Linked DNA regions of Homo sapiens: all the other regions are linked to region 3. The links are contacts of gene promoters, found by promoter capture Hi-C in blood cells and fetal thymus (Javierre and others, 2016). All regions are on one chromosome and are shown on one strand. The core of a region is centred on a gene start or on the middle of the fragment in contact, and the rest is flanking DNA. Distances in the headings are between cores, read along the strand shown.

Evidence for each region. Contacts are between HindIII fragments. The CHiCAGO score rates a contact against its expected background, and 5 or more counts as called.
Region 1: a fragment that was not itself captured here is called in contact with the fragment with the promoter of MYCBP2 in region 3 in 2 of 17 cell types (total B cells and naive B cells); the score reaches 6.4 in total B cells.
Region 2: a contact is called between a fragment that was not itself captured here and the fragment with the promoter of MYCBP2 in region 3, in 1 of 17 cell types (activated CD4 T cells). The highest score is 5.0, in activated CD4 T cells.
Region 4: a fragment that was not itself captured here is called in contact with the fragment with the promoter of MYCBP2 in region 3 in 16 of 17 cell types (naive B cells, total B cells, naive CD4 T cells and 13 more); the score reaches 29.7 in naive B cells.
Region 5: a fragment that was not itself captured here is called in contact with the fragment with the promoter of MYCBP2 in region 3 in 7 of 17 cell types (activated CD4 T cells, total B cells, non-activated CD4 T cells and 4 more); the score reaches 7.9 in activated CD4 T cells.
Region 6: a fragment that was not itself captured here is called in contact with the fragment with the promoter of MYCBP2 in region 3 in 3 of 17 cell types (naive B cells, total B cells and M1 macrophages); the score reaches 7.7 in naive B cells.

The regions. Positions count from the first base shown.
Region 1 is chr13:77,486,869-77,490,657 of GRCh38, forward strand. No RefSeq gene overlaps it. Among named protein-coding and RNA genes, the nearest start is that of SCEL, 47 kb to the right of the region's middle. The HindIII fragment of the contact is 9,502 bases long and covers 1-3,789 here.
Region 2 is chr13:77,166,198-77,170,462 of GRCh38, forward strand. MYCBP2 (MYC binding protein 2) reads right to left here. Exons shown (of 83, transcript NM_015057.5): 39 at 3,417-3,517; 40 at 2,231-2,449; 41 at 132-357. Among named protein-coding and RNA genes, the nearest start is that of MYCBP2-AS2, 87 kb to the left of the region's middle. The HindIII fragment of the contact is 5,173 bases long and covers 1-4,265 here.
Region 3 is chr13:77,325,290-77,329,549 of GRCh38, forward strand. MYCBP2 (MYC binding protein 2) reads right to left here and starts at 1,805. Exons shown (of 83, transcript NM_015057.5): 1 at 1,185-1,805. The coding sequence starts at 1,486. It overlaps LOC127898562, which reads right to left and starts at 1,699. Exons shown (of 1, transcript NM_001414702.1): 1 at 1,616-1,699. The coding sequence starts at 1,699. The coding sequence ends at 1,616. It overlaps LOC107984564 (a long non-coding RNA gene), which reads left to right and starts at 1,756. Exons shown (of 2, transcript XR_001749930.2): 1 at 1,756-1,846; 2 at 1,975-2,909. RefSeq lists enhancers at 105-284, 1,955-2,284 and silencers at 1,225-1,344, 1,385-1,764. The HindIII fragment of the contact is 13,146 bases long and covers 1-3,009 here.
Region 4 is chr13:77,468,695-77,472,914 of GRCh38, forward strand. No RefSeq gene overlaps it. Among named protein-coding and RNA genes, the nearest start is that of SCEL, 65 kb to the right of the region's middle. The HindIII fragment of the contact is 5,096 bases long and covers 1-4,121 here.
Region 5 is chr13:77,147,942-77,151,912 of GRCh38, forward strand. It overlaps MYCBP2 (MYC binding protein 2), which reads right to left. Exons shown (of 83, transcript NM_015057.5): 47 at 2,793-3,008. Among named protein-coding and RNA genes, the nearest start is that of MYCBP2-AS2, 69 kb to the left of the region's middle. The HindIII fragment of the contact is 3,453 bases long and covers 965-3,971 here.
Region 6 is chr13:77,505,562-77,509,369 of GRCh38, forward strand. No RefSeq gene overlaps it. Among named protein-coding and RNA genes, the nearest start is that of SCEL, 28 kb to the right of the region's middle. The HindIII fragment of the contact is 8,598 bases long and covers 1-3,808 here.

The DNA.
Region 1 (3,789 bases), core at 14-2,513, 160 kb after region 3:
TGTAAATATTTCACATATTTACATTTAATCACTGATTAAGTGTAAAATAAATTTAAAAATATTTAAATCAGGTTTCATTTACCTGTGTTTCATGTATAATCTCCATTCTCATAGGTCTAGGGGTCTATTTTGAGAATCAGTGGAGAATTTGAAGAAGATAGGGAAATGATCAGATTTATACTTTAGGAAGTTAATCATCTAGTGGATGCATTCCTCATTATTGTGAATGAGTAAATAGAAAATTATATATACTTTAAAATATTTCTTAGTGCATTACTATTAACTCAAAGCTAGTCTTAGTGGCATAATTTTTTATGCGTACAAGAAACATACTACTCTTGTTACTAATTATTTGCAGATACTGCCATTTGTTTTTCCTTGGGTTGACTTAGTTCAGATAGTTGAAACTTTTTATTGAGTGGTTTATAATAGTGATGTACAGTTGGGGTTATTCACACTTGGTGGTCTTTTAGAGCCCAGTGTGATGCAGAATAAGACATCTGTCATTTTGTAGTTGTCTCAGTTCTTTTAGGTTGCTATACAAACTGCATTAGACTGGTGGCTCATAAACAACAGAAATGTATTTCTCACAGTTCTGGAGGCTGGGAAGTCCAAGGTCAAGGCACTGGCAGATTTAGTGTCTAGTGAGAGTCTGCTTCCTCGTTCGTAGATGACTGTCTTCGTGCTGTATTCCCATGGTGAAAAGGGTAAGGGGTCTCTCTGGGTCCCTTTAATAAGGGCGCTGTTAAAATAAATTAAAACAGAAAGCCAGGCCTGCAGAACCCCTGAGCAGACAAAGCCAGTTAGCCTTCGTAACTGACCTTAACCCGGCTTGATTTGCAAATATAGCCAAAAGTTAACTTGAGCTATTTCTTATAAATGCCTATATTAAACAGAAATGAAACTTAAGGCTAACCAATCAGAAGCTGCCAACTAAATTATAGTTATATAACTATATAACTAGGGACTTTCCAACAAGATAGACAAAATAGTAAGGCAACTGTATAACTATAACCAAATTGTTTTACATCTGTATTCACTCTCTAAAAGTCTGTCTTTAATGCTTCTCCAAAGAAGCCCCCAAACCACTCATGGTTTGGAGCTCCTGATTCACAAATCAGTTTGCTCAAATAAACTCTTTAAAATTTTATTGTGCCTCTGCAGAATACCTGGTGTTCAGCACTATACCTCAGTACCTTTTAATGGCACTAATATCATTTACAAAGACTATCTCTCATGACCTAATCACCCTCTAAAGGCCCCATCTCCAAATACCGTCACACTGGAGATTAGGTTTCAACATGTAAAGTTTGGGGACACACAAGCATCAGTCCATAAAAGGAGTCATCAATGGAGGCCCCCTAGAAATCCACTTCAGACTTGCTGTGGAACATACCCTATATCCATATATTCTTTGATTCACTGCTATAGAATGAAGCATTGCTGTCGCTCATTAAAATGATTTTTTTTTAAATTTTTGTGGGTACATAGTAGGTATATTATATTTATGGGGTACATGAGATATTTTGATACAGAGACATAAAATGCATAATAATCACATCAGAGTAAATGGGGTATCCATCACCTCAAGAATTTATCATTTCTTCATGTTACAAGCAATCCATTACTTTTAGTTATTTTTAAATGTACAATAAATTATTGTTGACTGTAGTCAACAACACCCCACAGAACCCCACAGAATGGGGTTCTTGTAAAGTATTGACAAGAGATTAATGGATAGTTTGCAAATATTTTCTCCCATTCTGTGGGTTGTCTCTTCACTTTGTTGATTGTTTTCTTTGCAGTGTAGAGGTTTTTAAACTTCATGTGATTTCATTTGTCCATTTTTGCTTTGGTTGCTTGTGCTTGTGGGATATTACTCAAGAAATCTTTGCCCAGACCAATGTCCTGGAGAGTTTCTCAATAGTTTTCTTTTAGTAGTTTCATAGTTTGAAGTCTTATATTTAAGTCTTTAATCCGTTTTGATTTTATTTTTGTGTATGGCAAGACATATGGGTCTAGTTTCATTCTTCTGCATATGGATATCCAGTTTTCCAAGTACCACTTATTGAAGAGATTGTCCTTTCCCCAATATATACATTCTTGGCACCTCTGTCAAAAACTAGTTCACTGTAGATGTATAGATTTATTTATGGATTCTCTATTCTGTTTCATTAGTCTATGTGTCTGTTTTTATGCCAGTATCATGATGTATTGATTACTATAGCTCTGTAGTGTAATTTGTGAAGTCAGGTAATGTGATTCCTTTCATTTTGTTGTTTTTTCTCAGGATAGCTTTGGTTATTCTGGGTCTTTTGTGGTTCTATGTAAATGGTTAGGATTTTTTTTTTCTGTTTCTGTGAAGAATGTCATCGATATTCTGATGGAGATGACATTCAATCTGTAGATTGCTTTGGGTGGTATAAACATTTTAACAATATTAATTCTTCCAATCCATGAATATGGAATAGCTTTCCATTTTTTTGTATCCTCTTCAGTTTTTTGCATCAGTGTTCGCTATTTCTCATTTTATTTTATAATCTGGGATATTAGTTCATTTATTAAGTGCACACGTATGTATCTGTGTGTTTACTGCTCTGCGGAAATACAAACTAGTATAAAACATACAAACTAGTATAAAACATGATCCTCTAGTTAGGGAGAATAGGCATAAATATATGAAAAGTTGAATATTTTACCAAGATGAGGCCTCACAAAATATTATATATATCTCAATTATCTTTTCAAGTAATAGCTTTCACTTTTTGAATTATCTTATCCACATAACTTACTTTTTAATTTCTGCAAGGGAAGGTTTTTACTTACGAGAAAAAACAAAGCTCGGAGAGATGAACTTGCCCAATGTCAAATAGAAAGTGAAGAAAGTGCACAAATTGAAACTGGGGCTGTCTGTATTCACAGACCTTATCATTTCTCATAAAGCCAGTATGATGGAGATTTACCAATTTCTTTTTTGCCATCCAGGTATCAGAACCCACTCTCTATGTTTGGGAAATGCTCTCCCTCTGATGCCATCCAGCTACTCACCTCTCCAGGGTTCTTGCTGTTAAGGCATGGGGCTGGGCTCTGCCAATCAGATCCATCTTCTCTCGAGACTATGAGAAACTGGGACACAAGGAAGCACACACCACCCAGAATATATTTGGACAACATTTGGGGGTGGAGGCGGCAACCATATTTGGTTCTCAAAGGCAGCAGTGGCAGTAGAGTTCCTGCAGCAGCACCCAGGGTCTGGTCACTGGCTGCTGGAAGGTGCTGTGCTGTCTGGGTCCAGCAGGAGTTCCAATGTCTTTACCTGATAAGTCTTGTGGTTTGACTGTGGGAATTGTTTCCAGCTGTAAAATCCATAAGTTTGCTTCTCTAGCCCTCCCAGAGAATATATGGGCTATCCAACATCTTTTAAATAGTTTCTGTTTCTGCTTTAATTAACCAGGGTCAGTTTCTATTATTTGCATCTAAAAGTCCTGACTGTGACTGAAAATTGTGCCAGAAGTTGTAGGCAACAGTTATTCAGGAAAACAGGAGGGAAACTGTACTTTATTCTCTGTCTTGGTAGGGTTTAAGGGGAATTGGAAATCAGGTTGATATTAAGAAACTGAACCTGAGCATCCATCGAAATTTGTGAAGAAAAAACAAAACAAAACAAAACAGTTAATCAAATGATCACTTGTGTCCACTCGGGTGATAGCCCCCTTGAATGCTAGGTTTGGGAGGAAAAATGTATGCTGCAAGAGAGTGGTTGAAGGGTGTGGAGGAATTCAAGGATTG
Region 2 (4,265 bases), core at 472-2,971, 160 kb before region 3:
ATCCAGATACATAGTAGGTCTTTAATAAATTTCTCTAAAAATTAGATAAACATTTTCAATGATACACCCTTACTAAATATACATAAATGCACTTATTTTACCACATAAAACAGAAGAAAAAAAAAACTTACCTGGCAACACCAAAACCATAGTAGGCCACCCAGAGGATCCTGAAAATTTCTTTAATTCTATCCATGAATTAAGATTTTCATGAACAGATGTCAATTTTGGTCCATATCCTGAATTCTGAACAGTTCTGACAGGAATCAACAAACGAAGGACATCTTCTGACTGTGCAGTACCACACTGAGGGTCAAATTCGATTGTCATCCACCTCACACATTCTGGGAATGTCACCTGAGGTCAACAGGCAAAGTGACATGAATACAGATATATATATACACAAACATACACATCTGCATCTGTATGTGTGTGTGTGTCTATGCTTTTATTAAATGACACAACAGGATAAAGTACAAAATTAAAATAGAATAAAATGTTACCTATGACAGAGAAGGAGGAACAGAGTAAAGAGGACAGAGATAAAAGCTAGATTTGTTTCATAAATTTGACTTCAAAGTATGTAATTATGTAAAGAATTATAAAACAAAATCCAAATTTAAAAAGCAATTCCTAAAATCTAAGATAAAATAAATGACTCTCTAAGTGTATATCCAATGAATGCATAATCATGCAGAGGGAGCATTCCAACTTACTTTAAACACAGTAATTTGACATACACTTAGATGGGATATACTTCAAAGACAAAACACACACATACACACACACACACACACACACACACACACACACACACACACACACACACCAAATGAAATAATTTAATGATTTTCTAATTCTGATATTCCCAGTGTCACTAATAGGAATTTTAGATATAAGAGAAAGGAGACTGAGGTGTGTCTGTGGTCCTTGTTTGAATTAGTATCAACAGTATAAACTCATGAGGTATTTTATCTTTAAAAAACTATACACATAAATCTATCTGTACATAAACATATATACATTTATGTATATACATATATAAATATAACATGTGTGTGTATGTATAACAGAAATCAGGACACTTTGAAAAAATGGTTAGTTCCAAGTCTGAGGCATCAAACATATAAAGGGAGCCTGGAACATCTTATCCTACCAGAAAGCAAGGAAGCTAGGAATGACTGCAAGAGGGGTGTCTGAAAGAACCAGCAGGTAAGCTGAAGAGGCTCCCATCTAACAAATACATAGGATCCAGTTTCTTCAACAAATAGAACTCAAGGGAACAAAAAGAGAGAGAGACAGAGGGAGACTTATAGATTTAAAGGGACTTAAGATTAAAGGGGACTTAAGAGACATACTAATCACAATATATGGATTTTATATGGATTCTAACTCAAATTATTAAAAATTTACATGATGTTTGCAGACATTAAATTGTTTTCTTCAATGTGATAATACTATGGTTATATTTAAGGGTCTTTATATTTTGGAGACATTGTATCAATAAATATCATAAATGTGCTTTAAAACAATATAGGAGGTTAGGAAGTAGGTTGGGAATAAATAAGACAGGTCTGACTAACAGTTGAAACTGCTGAATCTGGGATGATGGATAAACAAGTGCACTGTACTAGCTTGTTTACTTCTATATGCTTAATAGTTTCTACCATGAAAAGTGGAATATTTTACAAGCACACAAAATACAAGTTTATCCTTCTCTTCCTTAATTTGCATGATACAATGAAAAAACAAAGAATACGGATTTTGAATACTCTCTAATAACATTAAATTTATAAACATTTTATACATAGTTTTTTTAACATTATGTATAGACTACTTTAAATCTTACATTGGGGTTGTAAATTTTCAGAGCTCAGGCTGTGGTACAAATAATGTTAGTTCAAAAAATACAATTTAAAATTGTTAATGCTTATATCTACTACTATTGCAAATCACAGCATGAAGTTTAGCATTATATACCACACTATACTTGTAGGAAGATTTAAGAACAACTCTCATAAACCAATAAAATTTTATCATCTTTGAGATAAAAATTCCATCTTAAATTATTTTATATATCCAACAGTGCCTAATCACCTGCTGATTCTCTATATGTAAATACTATAAAAGAAAATACACTTGTAAATACAGGCCAGGCATTCTTTAAGATATCATCAGAGAACCTCATGCCAAGTTTTACATTCGAATCACACTAAGAACCGGTGCCTACCTTGTAATGCATCACACAGGCAGGTTTATACGGGTGCTCACTCTCTATGACAGCATAGTGACTGGAGGTTGTACAAGCAGAGAGGCCCTGTTCAGGCTGGTTTCCTGTGGTGCTATCTGTCGACTGATTAGGGTTGAAGGCAGGCGGTGCATACTTCTGATTCAAAATGGCAACTGACGGAAGCAATTGTTGGACAAGGCCAAAGACTTCTACAGCCACCTAGTACACATATAAAAATATGGTTAAATGAGATACACGTGAAAGTGGTTCTAAAATTATGCATTACAATAATTGTTGGTTACTCTAATAACAATTTCCATCTAAATTTTCCACTAGTTAAGTTTTTGTCCAAAGAGAAATCTTTCAATTGATTAAAAAAAGATTTATCTTAGATGTTACATGACAATATCTAAATCTATATTTTTAAAAACTTGTTTTTTCATGATCTGAAGTAAATCAGGTTTTACTTAATTATGCCAAAGAATCAATAGTTTATCATTTCTTCCATCTCTTGAATATGTCACTATTTTAAAACACTCTTATCCTTTAACATTGCTATTGTTATTAATGAAGACCATTTGGCATCAACCTCATAAATGTGAAAAACCTCAGTTAACATAATCTTTCCTTACATATCATATTCCTAAAATTGCTAAAATCTATTTCCCATTCACAGATTCTTCAAATGTAAAGCCAACAGGCCGGGCGCGGTGGCTCACGCCTGTAATCCCAGCACTTTGGGAGGGCGAGGCGGGCGGATCACGAGGTCAGGAGATCGAGACCACGGTGAAACCCCGTCTCTACTAAAAATACAAAAAATTAGCCGGGCGCAGTGGCGGGCGCCTGTAGTCCCAGCAACTCGGGAGGCTGAGGCAGGAGAATGGCGTGAACCCGGAAGGCGGAGCTTGCAGTGAGCGGAGATCGCGCCACAGCACTCCCGCCTGGGTGACAGAACAAGACTCCGTCTCAAAAAAAAAAAAAAAAAAAAAGCCAACAAATAAGCACAGCAATCCAGTAAACAATACTAAGAAGAGAGAAGTTTAATAATTAGCAGATCTATCTCTGCTTGTTACCTATATCCCAGATGCCTCAAAGATGCAAGTTTTTGTAAAGACAAGACACAAAGTCTTTTTTTAAAAAAGATATTTAAAAAAAACATTCAAAGTTATAGAATTAAATTACACACCTTGGGAATAGCAGCAGCTACTGGTCCTATGTAGGCTATAATAAGGGGGAGCAGCATGGAAAACAGACTGGAAGAACTCAGCAGTTCTGGAATGTCATCAGCTAAAAAAAGGCATAAAAGGCATTAAAACTATAGTCAGAAGGTAATTTCATTGTACTGCATACATGCTGTACTAAATCTATATTCTGCTCTTTTGAGCGAAACTATAGTTGACACCAATTGGGTGCTTGTCAAGGGCCTGGTACTATTCTAAAGGCTTTTGAGAATACATGCCTTATCTCAACTAATACTCACAATAAGATACTTTTATTATCCCCAATTTTCAGAAAGGAAAACCATGGCACATAGGGTTTAAGTATCTTACCCAAAATACTTAATACATAAGTACATGTACCTGTAAAATAATAGAGCTGGAATCAGAACCTAGGGTAATGGAGTCTTTATTTTAAATTACCATTCTGGCACCAAACATGGCTGTATCAGTGACATTAGGCAAATTACTTACTCTGTAACTTAGGTTCACAACAGTATTCCTCTCATTTGGATGTTGGGAAGATTAAACGAGGTAATATATGTAAAACACTTAGAACAACACCTACACATATTCAGCACTCCAAAAATGTTTACTGTTATTAAGCTACATTGCTTTCTGTTTTTCCAAGAAAAGCACTTTGCTGATTAACATTTTAGTCAGTTATCCATGAACATGGTGCTGGAAAGATAAGCTGAGCCTATACTGTGAAGACCTTTATTTTATAAGCCAATTATTCTCCCAAATACTGATTCCTAGGTCTGCTGTTATATCAAAACAGGCTGCACACTTATTTAAAAAATAGTTTTTTAGCCTAG
Region 3 (4,260 bases), core at 555-3,054:
AGTAAACTCTTTAACTCATTTTGACAGTTTCCTACTATGTTTTCCCCATGTACTGCAAGAAGCTGTGGGAAAAAAAAGATGAAGCCAACTCCCAATTACCACTGTCAAAGCTGGTGAAACAAGTCAGTCACCAACCTTCAGGGTATGCGGCATGTAAGGGCATGGAAAAGAAAACAATAGGAGAGCCCTCAGCAAAAAAAAGCACCCACATTTTAAGAAAAAGAAAATGAAACCAACTGAACATCTACATCAAGGAAGCTGAAGGTGTAGCCAACCCAAGTAAAAGAGACAAATCTACGCGCTATTCAGATTTTCTAGCTAGTGGCAGTTGAACGCTGTACCAGCTGTCATATTCTGAAGTTCTGCAGTTTTCCCCTTTTCCCTACAAAACCCTCTCTACTCTAAAGCCTGTAAGTAACAGAGGAAATCGAACAGAGGATGAAGAGAAATGGCCGATGGGACATCAGATCACAAGAGTAACTGCAACCTCATTTCTAGAAGACCAAAAGGCCCGGTTATCAAAGTACAGCTCTAAAAATCTCTATCAGACACCTTTCGCATCCACACAGATCTCCATCTGCGTCCCTTATTCATAAATCTTTTTAAAGCAAACCTCACGCCTATCCCTCGGGCCTGCTTATCCAAAACTCAACCAATCTATACCATGACTCCTCTTGGTGAAAGGCAGATTGAAGGGAGGTGGAAAGGGCTGGAAGGAATGTCATGGGAGAGGCGGCACGTGCAAATAACATTGCGGCAGAGACACTGAAAACGCCACTTCCCTTGCCACTGTTGCAATTCTCTTCGTGTATCATCCTCTTACCCTCTCTACCCATGCCACCTCCTACCTCAACGATACACACACGTGTCACAGCCGACCAGCACCATCGCCTTTTCCAGCATCACAGGTTCCCCTACCACCCCTCACTATCCCCCCACATAGGCAGGCAGACACACACACACACACACACACACACACACACACACACACACACGAGAAACTGCAGCCACCGCACCCTCCTATCTCGATAAGTGCTCCTGCCAACAGACATCCAGAGCGGACTGAAAGCTCAATAAATGCGCAGGTACACACACGCAAGCACACACACACGCGGGTGCACGCGCGGCATGGGGCGCAAGGAAGGGCGGCATGGGGCGCAAGGAAGGGCACCCTGGGGACGCACCTGGAGGCTGGGTGTCCAGCGCTGCCGCCCCCCTGGTCCCTGTCATTGAGCGCAGCGGTATAAATCCTCCGGTAGCGGTCGGCCAGGGCCCGGCCTGACAGCAGCAGCTGGTAGTGACCCCGGGAGTCCGCGGCGGGTAGCCCCAGCCCCAGCCCCGCAGCAGCCACGGAGCCGTCGGGAACCGGCATGAACAGCGCCCCCGGCGCCGGGGAGGAAGAGAAGGTGGCGGCTGGGTAGAATCCGTCCCCGCCGAGCCCCGAGGAGGCGGCGGCGGGGGAGGCAGTCGCTGCGCACATCATCATCCTCGCCGCCGCCGCCGCCGCCGCCGCCTCGTCCCCGCGGGCCGGGCGGGCAGACACGCGCGCGCACACACAGCCCTTTTCCAACGACGACGGCTCCGGCGGCGGCCTCTGGCTCCCGCAGCAGGGAGACTACAAAGACAGCGACCTCCTTCTCCTCCTCCTTCTTCTCCTCCTCCCCCCCGCGCCGCCCTCGCCGCTACTGGGGCCGCTCATCTAACCCCGCCACCCCGGGAATGTGAGGAGGAGGCGGTGCCGCCACTGCCGCCGCCACCACCGCTACCACCGCCACCACCGCCGGGGCTACCCGCAATGGGAAGCTGCCGGCCTCACAGAGCATGCGCCACTCCTCGCACATGCTCAGTAACTGCCGCCCCTTTTCCTCCCCACCCCCTCTCCGCCACCACTCCCTCCGCCTCGGGGCTTTGGGTTTGGGGCTGTTGGGTTGTGCGGAATCTGAAGTAGTCCACTTCTCCGGGTTTTACTGGCAGCTTGAAGAAGAGTAAGGAAAGTGCTGGGGAGGCTGTCAGCTACTGACGTTCGACTTCAGGTTCCCTCCAGGTGGAAGAACGAGGACCAGAAAGCAAGGGGGAACGTGCCCATCGCCAGAGGAGGAGTGGCACGCTCTTCTGCTACCTCTTCTCCAAGGCTCTGCTGCCAACAGGAAGATTTACTGTGAATTGTGCTGGTTAATTCAGAGTTTAAGGCAGAGAAAACCATCCCAATTAGAAGTGCCTTTAGCGATCTTATTTTATATGGTTTTTGTCATTAGGATTTACGCTTGTTTAACACAGCTTTTACTTACAAAGACAGGTAGTAATCTAGCACATTCTTTTTTGTGTGTGAAAGTATTTTGTGTGTGAAAGTATAACAGATAGGCTAGTATTCACAAGCCAGAGTCATTCCCAAATTCTTGTTCTCAACGGAGCAATAATATTTTTTAAATTACTCTTTTTTATTGACTCCTCACTCACCTAAGAGTGCACTTTTATCTCTTGGCAGTGGTCATTTAATGGTTTATTTTTTTCTGCCCAAACTTACATTTTTAAAGATAATTCTTGAATGCGATCTGAAACAATAATTGTGACGGAGACTGTATAGCGTCTGAAAATGTCAGATCCATCACATATCTTGTTGTTGTCTATAAAAAAGTAACATTTGCTCAGTCCTTTGTTCCAAGCTAACCTACGAACCCCATCTAAGTATATGCTCTAGAAATATACGTGCCAATGCACTTTGATTCCTACTACGTTTTATCCTTTGACTCTCAATTTGAAGAGTTTCCTAATTTACAGTCCTGACAAAATAATTTATAAGTTCTGTCATCCCAGTACTGTATCTTTCATCTATGTACTAGTTCTTATATCTGTGCCTCTTCTTCGGATGGCCTTCTCTTAAAAAAAAATAAAATAAATGTTAAAAAATCCTCCTTAGTGTTTGAGAAGTGCAAACAACAAGGAATAGGAAAGTAAATTAATTCTAGTTTTAGGGTGGAAGGTTGCTGAAAGCAATGCATTTTTTTCTGAAGCTTTAAATAATGGATGGATTTCATTTAGTTTTTTTAAAGATAATTAGCAGTGGGATAAACATAGGAACAAAGGACAAGACATGTGGAATCATAGTATTTTAGTACTGTAATTAGCCCTGTTAAGTTTTTGTATTTGTCTTGTTTCCTTACCTAAGTTCCTTCAGAGCTTGCTGCTTTTGTGTCTCCTTCAGCCACTTCAGGACTTTGCATGTAGTAGGTATCCAGTAAGTATTTATTAGACTAAATTTCTATCCTAATGCTTCAGCACAGTTAAAGACCTCAGTGTTGACCAGGCAGCCCCTAACCCTGGAGTGAGAACCAAGACAATGGTGTAGAGGCAGCTAAATTCTAAGAATTCTAAGGCCTGACAGGTAAGCAATGAGAGGGCCCATTACTATTGCAAGACCTAGCAGGGTAGCTAAAAGGCTCTGAAATCAGACAGCCCTGGAATTGGATCCTGACTCTGCTACTTAATACTTGTCTGGCTTTGGGCAAATTATCTCCTCTGAATAATGCTCAAAAGAATACCCACTACATGAGATTGAGGGAGGACTTAAAGGATCTAGGATGTCCAACTTGGCACATGAATTTTCACAAATGGTAGCACATACTAAACAAAACACTAGGTTTTCCGTAGGGTAGCAATGGTGTCTGTTCAACCATCACAGGCTCCTAGCACAGGGTCTAGCCCTGAACAGGAGGGAAATAGATGTTGGCTGAATGAATGAATGTTGCTTGCACAGAAAACATTTACAGCGCAGGCTCAGGTGGTGGAATGTGCAGTCACTGCCCATTTAGAGTTTCTAGTGGACATTGACCCGCGTGGCTGCCCTGGTCTCCGGGCTCTTCCCACCATTCATTAATTTCGCTTCAATCTTTACTGCTGTTCAGTCCCAGACAGGCCCCTACGGAGCCTGATGGGTACACTCAAAACCCGGAAACTGGATAACTTGCTAAGAAGCCCGATGTCATTGAGCTGCGCAACTAGGCGTGCGCAGAGTCGCACACATGCTCACTTAGGTATCCGAGAGTGGCATTTCTGTTGCGGTTGGCAGCGTTTCCTTCCACGGCAGCGGCAGCGGTCGCTCTCCTCAAAATTGATAGCCAGTGCAGCGTTTTTTCTCCTCCTCCTCCTCTTCCTGCCTCCGCACGGCGCGCTCCCCGGTCCCTGCAACTGCCACAGCTACCGCCTTGGCAGCTGGGCAACTTGGAAGGCTCCCCTGGGATGGCGGGGGAGTGGGGCGCATGC
Region 4 (4,220 bases), core at 324-2,823, 140 kb after region 3:
TCAGTTCCCCAGAGTTCTGTGTTTCTGGTATTTTAATGTGGAATAAAATGTTACCAACTCGTTTTTGCTTCTATTAAGATCTCGCTCTTGGTAGGCCACTGGCTTTGAGAAACATCTTGTGTCTTTGAATTCAGATAAAATAGAGTTACAGCTAATTACATCTTGGATTTGTTTTACAATTACAAATATAGAAGGTAGATGAAGAAAAATTATGTTCCAATCTTTGAAAACTGCCATTTGGAAGATTGTCTACATGATGGTTTACATTAAAGGTGCAATATTAGCATGGCTTTTTATTACTAAATATATTTTAAAATATACATTTGGGCATTAACTTTAAGATACTTATAAAATATTTTCTTATTTGCTAAAGCGAATCCCTTTGATTTATAATATACTTCTTGTCCATTTATAAATATTTAATGAAACCTTACTCTTTTTTTTGCTTTTTATGGTGCATAAAATAGATTGATAGTGTCTCAAAAGTTTTTTTATTTTTCCATTTTCTGTTATAAAAATAATCATGAATACCTTTATGTGTCAAAATTTCAAGCCAATACTACTGAAGTGAGAATAATTTTTCTACTTTTTAAAAGAAAAGTCACAATCGTCTGTCAAGTGTTTTAAAATTCAGATTCTCATTCAAAAATTTGCATGAGATTTATTTTAAAACAGTTTTTTTTCTTCCCAAGATGATAGTAAAAGATAGGAGAGAAAAGAAAGAAAAGATGGTAAAAGATGATGGTAAAAGACACGGCTTGACGCACCTACACATACGCTGATAGACTATAGAGCACCTTAATTTTTTTCCCTTTTTGATCTCCTCACCTTTTTTTTTTTTTTTTTGAGATAGAGTCTCACTCTGTCACCCAGGCTGGAGTACAGCAGCGCGATCTCGGCTCACTGCAACCTCCGCTTCCCGGGTTCAAGGGATTCTTCTGCCTCAGTCTCCTGAGTAGCTGGGACTACAGGCATGCACCACCATGCTCGGCTAACTTTTTGTATTTTTAGTAGAGACAGGGTTTCACCGTGTTAGCCAGGATGGTTTTGATCTCCTAACCATGTGATCTGCCTGCCTCCTAACCTTGTGATCCGCCTGCCTCAGCCTCCCAAAGTGCTGGGATTACAGGCGTGAGCTACTGCGCCCAGCCTTGATCCCCTTTTTATGATTAATCTGTTATTACGTGAGTTTTGAGATAAATTTTCATAAATGCTTAATTTTTCATACATAAAATGATTAAAATAATTCTTACAAAGAATAGTAAGTAAGTAATTTTTAATAAGTATTTTTAACATTGTGTTGAGGTTAAAGAAGAAGGCATATACAACATAAGCACACACTCATATGGAAGTTTCAGGAAAGTAATAAGCAGAGAAGTCCTGTAAGTCATGAGTTGGGGCAGGGGCAGGGATTGGAAAGGCTGAACTTTTATTGTTAAATATACCTTGGGCAGTAGTGACCTTGGCTTTGGGCAAGATTCCTTAATTTTATTTTATTCCCAAATCTGTTGCAAAATGGAGAGTTCGCAGGAGGTGGTTATTTCGGTGAGAATGAATTTCATGGTGGAACGGTCATGTGACTGGAGTCCATCAAGGGTCAGTTGTTTCCTTGTGAGTGGTTTGACTTCCCTTTGGGTCAGCCTGAGTGAATGTCAGGTGCTTTTTCACATGGTGAAAGTGAGCTCTTCTGTAGCCACCTCTGAAGAAAGCTGGCCACTATGGAGCAGGGGGCAGAGGGGTAAAGAGCTCCTCAATTCTTTGCGGGCAATTCCCAAATCCAAACTCCTCTGAAAACTCAAAGACTTTGTTTTTTTAACTTCATTGGCGATAGTATTGGACCCAACCTGATGTGGGACTATTTGTAGATTTAACTGAAAATGTTAATATTAGTGTTTGATTATAGGTGCTACCCAGGCCCTGTATGACATCCCATGTGATTTTCCACCATATTATTCTAAAAGTCAGAATGCTCCTGAATTCCCAAACACCTTTGATCAGGAAAGATCTCAATATTATGCTAAAAGACCCCCTCAGTTGAGGATGAGGATACAAACAATCTGTCTTCACCTACTGGATAGGATGAAATTAGTCAAAAGGGTGAAGGAGAAAAGAGACTTGTCTAGCTACCCTACTGCAACGTTATAGATAGAGATCCAGAGGTCACAGTCCCCTTACCTGCTCAAGGCCCTGTGACTCAAAAAAGAGAAAAGTAGGATTCTAGTCTGTCTATTTATCCCTTGATAAAAGCATCAGTTCTAGGCCTGCGGTAGTCTCTAGGATGCTTCGGACAAAGCAATTTCCCTAGCTCTGTAAGTGAGACTATTAGCAAACTGAGGTCTCAGGGTTGGGTGATATATGTGGAAGGAGACTGTGAATCTTTTGGAGACCGTGAGCGATGTTAAATCAAAATTTTCACTGCCACGGCATTTCACCATTGTGAAATGTCATTTTCTTAGACAATTAGGTCTCCAAATTCTGCCAAAGGCCACTTAGTCTTTCCTTTCTCTTCTAGGAAGGAATGTGCCTAAATTTTCCCAGAATAATGGGTGTTTCCTTCAGAGAAATAGATTGCTCAACCTGGCTCAGTGGCAGCCAAATCCAGAGAATAACAAAATTTAGGGCAGAATTTTTTTTTCATATCATACCAAGAGTACTGTATAGAAATCCAAGGTACTGCATGATGGTCTGTGCTTAACTATGACAAAAAAAAAAAAAAAAAAAGGGACTCAGAGGTTGCTATTGCTTAGTTATAACGGTGACAAACCCCTTAAGACTTTGATCAGACACTCAGGTAGTAACTTGTGGCATAACTATGGAGCATCGCCTGGGAAAGAATGGGAAACTACTTCCCTGACCAGTCTTTTAGCTTGTTTCCAGTTTAGGAGACTATAATGCAAACTGTCTATGCAAAACCAGGAATAACCTAGCTCTTTTAAGAGAGATCTGAGGCTGAGGGAATGAAATACTTAAATGATTAGATAATTAATGATTAAATGCTGCTGGATCCAAGATTGGTGCTTTCTACTATTTCCTCTTTGTTCCTGGGCAGGACCTGAAGGTCCCTTGCAAAACCTCCAGATTGCCTTAAAGAATCTCTCCAAGCCTTGCTACCTACCTGCATTCTATACCTCCTTCTCCTTCTTCTCATGTCCCTGCCTCTTTCTCCCCCATTCCTTTATACCTGGGTTGTTTCTTCCTACTCAGCCCTTTAGTTAGTTGTCTTATTAAGTTGTATTTTTTTCTGGGTCTCTACTCGTTTGTTAAGAGCAGTTGATCACCCTCAGTAGTGACTGACTAGAGGAACACTCTCCATGTTGGTTTCTGGCACAGAGTTTGTGCTCACTGAATGTGTTTCAAATTGAATATTCACAGTATCTCCGCCACAGCTATCTCTCTTTAGTCTGGCATTTCGTGGACGAGTGATGAGGAGAAACCAGCAGGTTTCTACATTCACACAAATTCTCAGCCACTTGGTTTTTCCCTTCCAGCTTGAATCATGAAGAGCTTCAGAATAACATTGGTTTTCTCAGACTGGTGTATTAGCTGGGACAGACCAACTACTATCACATAGAATTTCAAAATTTCAAAGTTTAAAATTGGAATTAAAACTCCAAAATAAAACTTAATTTGTCACGTGTTTTGCAGGCCTAGCCTAGTTGGCTGACCAGTGGACAGCTTTCCTCCAGGCAGCAATTCAGCCTCTAGATCCTTAGACTTCTCCATTCATTGGGTGCAAAGGGAAATAAGAGAGAAAGAATTGTGGGCAGGAGGACGTCATAGACCAGGCCTGGAGGTTGGACCCATCACTTCTATTTAGGTTCCATTGACCAATACCCAGTCACAGGCCACATCCAACTGGAAAGACAACTATGATATATTGCCCACCAGTATACTTGGAAGAAAGGCAAAGTGGTTTGGTGAACCACTAACTGGTTGCTGGCACAGATGTCGTGGATGAATATCTGTTTTTAGTAATCAAATGATTGCTAAAATGTTAAGAAAAAACATGGTAGCCTTAAAGAGTATATAGAAAGTCCTCAGCGATTCTTACAGTTGGGAAACCATTACATTTTGATATATTGAGTTATGGAAATGAAGTTGAATATATAAAAGTATATTAAAGCTTAAAATATACATGGTTGATATACCAGAATTATGTCTGCCAATATGTTAAATGTTTTCCATGACAAAGGAATTTATGGTATTACAGCATATATTGA
Region 5 (3,971 bases), core at 1,441-3,940, 180 kb before region 3:
AAACCTAGGCTACTCAGAACATGTTTGAAATATTGCATTCCGTTGTGGTAACAAAATTTGCAAAAGAAATTATACAAACTGAAGCATGTTCATAGGAAACTAAAAGATTAGGGAGGTAAGGAGACTAGAAACTAAATTCCTTAAGCAAGTGTTGGAATAGAGAAGAATTTTTAGCCTTGCTTTTTTTTTTAATAGTAGAAATAATTTTAAAATTTGATACTAAAATAGCCAAATGTGTAAGATGGATTTTTTAAAAAATGAGACAAATATTTATTTCGGATATAGAATTCATAATGAGATTATTAATTTGGTGAGTAAAAAGTGAGAGAAGAGAATTCTTTAACAGCCAGTGGACAATTCACCTAGAACTCTAGTTTCTCATTCCCTGATTTCTTTAACCTCAATAACTTCAACTTTTTTTCCAGCCACTCACACCAAAAGTCACAGACCTGTGACATTACTCAGAATTGTTCTGTCTCTGAAATCAAAATAAAATGGCCTGTTCAGTTTTTTACCTCAATAACTATTCTTATATCTACTTTGACGTCTAGTCCCTCTTACTTCCTTGACTCTGAAATTTCTTCCCTTCCAAACTAAATTAGGTTCCACTGTCCTCTCTTTAGCTACCATATACTTAACTTCCTTGTTCCACTGTTCTTTTGCTGGTCTAGCAAAATTTTAATGCTAGATCCATCCAAATGATTGTTTTATCCATGCTCATATGACTCACACTGTTATTCACAAATAATCTTCAATTTCAACTGATTATTCAAAGGCATCTAATAAATCTTTTCTGATCGGTGCTTTCTTTTAATCTCTAGAATAACAATTTCATTTTATCCGCTTTGTTTCAAAACCTTGACCCTAAGATTCATCACTTCCATTTCCATCCCAAAACACATAATTACTGTTTTAAATAATTCCTTTGGCTGCAAAACCTACAAATTTACTAGCATCTGTATTAAGCTTTCTTTTCCTTCTTCTGGTAGAATGAAACAAGCACTACTCCTCCTCCTATTTAAGGCCAATGCTACCACTTGAGCTCTAGATTCTATTTTTATATTCGGAGTATCTTTATTGTTTTTTCTCTCAATTACCTCCTAATCAGCACTCAAATATGTAACTCTATCTCTATTAATAAGACCCCATACTCCAAAGCCTTCACTCAATTCCATTTCCTCTGGTTCTTTCTATAGTCAAACATCTTGAAAGGCTTATCTACACTCACTTCAGCCATTCCCTTAATTATGTGTTGCTTCTTTGGCTAGTATTCTTACCAATGTGAATCGTTTTTCCTTTTCCTTTCTTTTTCTCTTATCTACCTTGTAAATCAGTATTTCTCAAAGTTTAGGTTTTGAATTTGAATCACTGCATATTTGTTTCAGGTAAATTCCTGAACCTCTCTCCAAACCCACTGAATCTAAATCTCTGGGTGCTTGGAAATCTTTTTTTTTTTTTAAGTAAGTGCTCCAGATGCTTCTGATGTAGAGAAGAGTCTGAGACTCAGTGATATTGGTGTTTCTTAGGATCCTATCCTGGAACTTCTGTCTTCATTCACCATAGAAGGTATCATCTATTCCCATGACTTCATAAGTAATGTAAGTGCTAATGATTCCTGAATCCTTTTCTTGAGGTCAGACTGTGATCACTCAGGTCTGTACATCTAACTTTGTTTTATACATCTTCACGTAGGTATTTCAGAAGTATCTAAAACTCACCTCATCCAAAACTGAATCTGCTATCTTTCTCAACCAAAACCTGCCCCTCTTCCATTATCAATTGGACACAAGCTCAATATGTGAATTTCATCTTTTATTTCCTACCTTTCTTCTTTACTCCACCTCCACTAGCTACCAGGTTCTACTGATTCTATTGAATCTATCCTCATTGACAACTCACTAGTCCAACTGATCAGCATATCTCACCAAATTAAGTCAATAGTCCCCTAAAGAGACTAAAACCAAGTCATGTTTCTTGATCATCTGCCCAATTACACTGTCCATATTCCACCACAATCGTTACAAAACACAAATCTAATCAAGCCATTCCTCTACCCAAAAGCCTTCAATGGCTCACCACTGCTCTCTGAAAATGCCAAAATTACAAACTTCAGCTTCAAATAATGACTACCTTGATAATTCGGATTAACATTGCCTCTGAAGATAACTAAAACATCCAAAATATATATTTTTTAAATGTCTAAAGGTATTAGAGAGCTAAAAATCCCAAAGAGTTCTAGGAGATACATCTGGCATTTGAGAGAACCCAAAATTGAAGGGGGCATAGGTAAACCCCAAAACCCTGAAGAGATACATTCTAGCAAGAATAGTAAACTGCAAATAGACAAGTACTTAGAAATTTTATTTTATTTTTATTTTTTTGTAGAGATGGGGTCTCACTACATTACTGAGGCTGGTCTCGAACTCTTGGCCTCAAGTGATGTTCCCTCCTTGGCCTCCCAAAGCCCTGGGATTATAGGTGTGGGCCACTGTTCCTGGTCAGAAGTAGACAAGTACTTTCACAGGAACTGAAACTCAGCCTAATCCATCTGTATCTCTGATTCGATTAACTTGATCTGTAATTGGTGATCCCCTCTGGACATCTGCCAAAAACCAATGAAAATCCTCTCTGAAGACAGGATAACATCATCTTAATAAGTGTTGCTGCAAATTTAATATCCATCAAATGCTCTTTGGACTTACAATTTCATGTCTGCATCTGAATCACTGAAATGTTGGTTAAATAAACAAATGCTGAAAACTAAAATTTTTCTGATAAGTAAAATAAATTACCTTCATCATTGTTATGGCAATATATCGAGCTTCCTTCACTATCATTGGTTCATATGAAACATCTAGCTTTGGTGATGCCAGCCCTCCATAAGTCATGTCAGTATTAGAAGATGCAGCTGTTACTGCAGGACTGCCAGGAATCCTTTGAGGTTTCTTTGCTTGATCTTGTTGTAAAGACATTTTTTTCTGAGAAACAGGGACAGCTTTCACTTCCACCTAAACATGGTATTATAGAAACCAAATACCATTATTATTTAATTGTCACTGACATCAAAATAAGCAACTTACTATTATAAACTCATAATTATGTATACTTTATGTTAGCATTGGTCTGTCTCTGGCATTCCCTTCAAAGGCTTATTGAAAAGAGTTCAAATGACCTCAAGATGGGTTGACAATATGAACCATGAACACGGTGTAAAAACAAGGCCTCATAGTTTTGGAATACATAATCAGAGATATCAAAACATAAAAACAAATGCACCACTAATAAAGTACAGGAAAAGATAGTGGAATGAATCTACATTAAGTTATTGCAGGGACTAACAAATTATTTTATCAGGTAATGCAAGTGTAAATGCTTTCCCACAATCTCAGCACATTTTAAAGCACTAATGTCAGTTTGAGCTGCACTGTTCTACAGAAGAAAATGTACTCTATTTATAGAAGTTTCAAAAATTAACACTTAATAAAACAAATCTTATACCTAAAGCCCAAATATGTTTCTTTACTCGGGTGAAGAAAGAATATTATTAGACAGCCCTATCACCAACATCAACATTTGATTTAAGCAATCTATTAAATAATTAAACTTTGCAACTCACTTTCTTTAAGAATAAAATGGGACTATCTTTCGTCCACTAACTCTACAGTATAGATGCAAAAAACAGATTCGTTAATGGATGTTAATATACTGAAAATACAAATTGTCTTATAAAAATACCTTTTAGATATATTTTCCAGGAATTATAACTTTGCAACTCAATTTCTTCAACAAAACGGGACTATCTTTGATCTACTAACTCTACTATTTCATCTACTAACTACTATTTCTGAAAAATACTTTTTAGAAATATTTCCCAGAAATTATAAGAAAACATTGTTTTTATTTGTTTATGCATTGGCAGAAAAACACTTGACCCCTAGGCAACCACAAATGTACACACAATTTGAATACCA
Region 6 (3,808 bases), core at 1,218-3,717, 180 kb after region 3:
TTCATTTTATAGTGACAGTGCACATAAGAAAAAAATTTACCCCTTTGTTTTTCTGTCCTAACAACGTCTGGCTCTAAACAATTCTATAACATACACATACAGGTACACATTGAATATATACATTTTTAAATCAAGTATTATTTCAACAATGCTTTGAATAAATTTACAGGAACCCAGTGGGGTTTTTTCCTTTCAGTAAGACTAATCCCTAGATTTGAAAATTGATTGAATTGAGGGGTATGACAAGTTCAAATTCAAACATTATCATCACCTCAATATTAAACTAACCATAAAAATATTCCATATATAAAACATGATTAAAAATAATCACTGTCATAGTAGTTAGAAAATAAGGCTTCCTTCACCTGAAATTTTGTCCATTTGAAGAGGGAAGTGGACCACAGTAGGGAGGGTTGAAGACTGGAGACTCCCCAAAGAGCTCCCTGATATTTATTATCATCAGCAACAGAAATCCCAGAACACGGCCGGGTGCAGTGGCTCACGCCTGTAATCCTAGTGCTTTGGGAGGCCGAGGCAGGCGGATCACAAGGTCAGGAGATCGAGACCATCCTGCCTAACGCGGTGAAACCCCATATCTACTAAGAATACAAAAAATTAGCTGGGCGTGGTGGCGGGCGCCTGTAGTCCCAGCTACTCGGGAGGCTGAGGCAGGAGAATGGCGTGAACCCTGGGAGGCAGAGCTTGTAGTGAGCCGAGATCTCGCCACTGCACTCCAGCCTGGGCGACAGAGCGAGACTCCATCTCAAAAAACATAAAACAAACAAACAAAAGAAATCCCAGAACACTTTTTATTTATGAGAAGATGGCAATGAAATGTGTGTACTAAATTATAGTGCTTCTTTTTCTTCCATTTCTGAAAGCAGTGACATTCCTATTGGTGCACTTTAAAAAGGAAGCTAAAGTCAGAAGTGGATTGCTGCCTCCTGCTCTTTTTTTTATATTTTAACTTTTAGGTTCTGGGGTACATGTGCAGGTCTGTTATATGTGTAAACTCATTACTTGAGGGTTTGGTGTACAGATTATTTTGTCACCCGTTACTAATCATAGTACCCAACTGCTTTTTGTTTGTTTGTTTTCTGAACCTCTCCCTCTTCCCACCCTCATAACATTGAAAAATGTGTTCTTACATGTAATTGGGAAAGTAATTTCCTAAAAAGAATTTAATTAAGCCTTAAATAATAGGCTTCTGTCACCTGCATCCTTCTCAAAGCTGACTTACTGCTTCACTTTTTTTTTTTTTTCTGACTTAACCAAAGATAATGGACCTTTTGAGGTTCTGGCTGTAGGTTTGTTCCTGGTAAGTGGGCTTGAAGTATTGTGAGATCAAATCCAAAATGGTATTTTTTTAAACTAGGCTACCATGTGAATACCATTTCCCACCAAAAGTAACAGAAGAGTTCATGAACATGGAAAAAAAAAGTATTCTTTTAGCAGCTTGATACACAAGGCTTCATTATTTTTCTTACTTTGTTTCCCTCTAGTGCCCCAAAGTGAAAAGTGCATGGGTATTTTATATGGAGATGTCCAATTCAATTAATTTATTCATTAAAAAGAAATTGATTAGATTCATTCTTATTGTCCCTTTTAGAACTTGGGTACTACTGCTCCTTTTTAGGACATAAAGTCCTGAATCCCCTGTACTCCGCGATCCCACCAATACCGCTAAACACCTCTTCTTGGTCATACTCAGATTTCAGAACCAAGCAGATGATTGTGATTGTGTTTGTTTCCATGTCTTCTGCCTAGTTCTTATTTTTTTAAAAAATTTTTTTTGGCTTGGCGGGGGGTGGTCCTGAATTTAATAGGGCTACAAACTATAATCATAGGCAGGCATTAGGCTCAAGTTGGAACAATTTTTAACTAAAATGACTTAATATAATCACTTAATTTACTTTGTTATGCAATAACTCATAGTAATTTTTTTTTTTTTTTTTTTTTTTTTGAGACGGAGTCTCGCTCTGTCGCCCAGGCTGGAGTGCAGTGGCGCAATCTCGGCTCACTGCAAGCTCCGCCTCCCGGGTTCACGCCATTCTCCTGCCTCAGCCTCCCAAGTAGCTGGGACTACAGGCGCCCGCCACTACGCCCGGCTAATTTTTTGTATTTTTAGTAGAGACGGGGTTTCACCGTTTTAGCCGGGGTGGTCTCGATCTCCTGACCTCGTGATCCGCCCGCCTCGGCCTCCCAAAGTGCTGGGATTACAGGCGTAACTCATAGTAATTTTTAAGAAGGGGGAAATGCATAAAAAATGGACTACGTAGTCCATTTTTGACCTGGAGACATCATCCTTTGTCACATTTACAGTTACTCATGAGCATTTGTCTCTCCCCTAGTTTTAAAAAAGAGAACAATGATCAGGGCTTGCAACCACAGCAAGTGTTATTACCAGGGAGAATTATTATCTTGCTGATCATTCTAGGTGAGACTGCATATGCTTTGTGGTCACTGTGGGCTGGTGCTCTGGAGCAGTGATTCAGAGGCACTTACAATTTCTTTTGGCAGAATGCCGGGTATACATAGCGAAATGATATTTTTATGGCTTTTCTAGGGTTTGATGATCTCACATTTCAGGCTGGACAACTTCCCATAGTGATAGACCTATTATTAATTAGAGAATGTACGTGTGACAACCAGTAAGGGATGCTTTTGTTTTTTTCTCAAAGAAGAAGGTACTCAATGGACCATCTGGGGAACACATGATGTACTGTGAGGTTGTCCCACCCTGATCTTTTGTGGTCTCAAATATGTGACCAGACGCCTTATATTCCATTCTTGACTGTTCTCCATCAGATAAGAATCAGGCAACACAGTAAAAACAGTGCTCTGATTTCAGGCAATAAGTTCTTTAATACCTTTTTAAAGCTCAAGGTAGAATTGTTGAGCTGCAAGTGACAGCCTGCTTATTTAGAGTTAGAACAGGAGAGATTGAGATGAAGTAAACCTGGATGGGATGCTTTCTTTGGCATGATTTTAAAGACACTTGGCAATAATCTTCAAAGGAGGGTGTGTGTTTATCTTTCTTGGCATGGCTTTTGTTTTACTTCTGAAGCCCCACCTTTTCTTTCGGGTAATTTTTTTTCCCCAGTATGTCTGGCAACTGTGCTGAGGCTGCCCACAGTGCCAACTTTTCTGGGTAACTTAGGGAAAAAAATTGAATATGAATTTTTGCTGTCAAGTAGAAAAAGAATATCCAAATGATTGCTTTGCAGTTGAGTGTTGCTTGCTATGTTGAGATGATCATAGAGCAATCTGAGAACTCCAAAATTTTGGTAACTTATTTATATAGAACTCAGTGAAGTGAGCCTTTAAAACGAGAGAAAATATCAATGAACATTCTGTTTTACTTAAAAAAGTTATTCCAGTTCAATTACCATTACCACCAATTTCATTTTTCAATGGAAATCATAAGTACTGAATGTAACGGTTTAGGATTTTAAGCTCTCATGTGGTTGTAGACCCAAAATTTAAGATAGAAATGTATAAGAAGGACTAATTCTTAATCCAAAAATACAGTGGTCAAGTGAGTGAGTTATTGCTTCCTGGCCTTTTGGCTAAGATCAAGTGAAGTGCGTGGGTTTTAAAGGCAGACAATCTTTGAAAACATACTCTACTACTTACTAGCTGGAAGAACTCTATGAGGCTAAAGATTCCATAAAATTAAGGGTCTTTTCTTTCTTTTATGCCATTCTGCCTCTAGTATCTGGCAACTTGCCTGACACATAGTAAAAGCACAACTACAGAAGGTTTTTTCTTCCTGTGGATGAAAATTCTTTTCCAGTTAAGTGCTTTC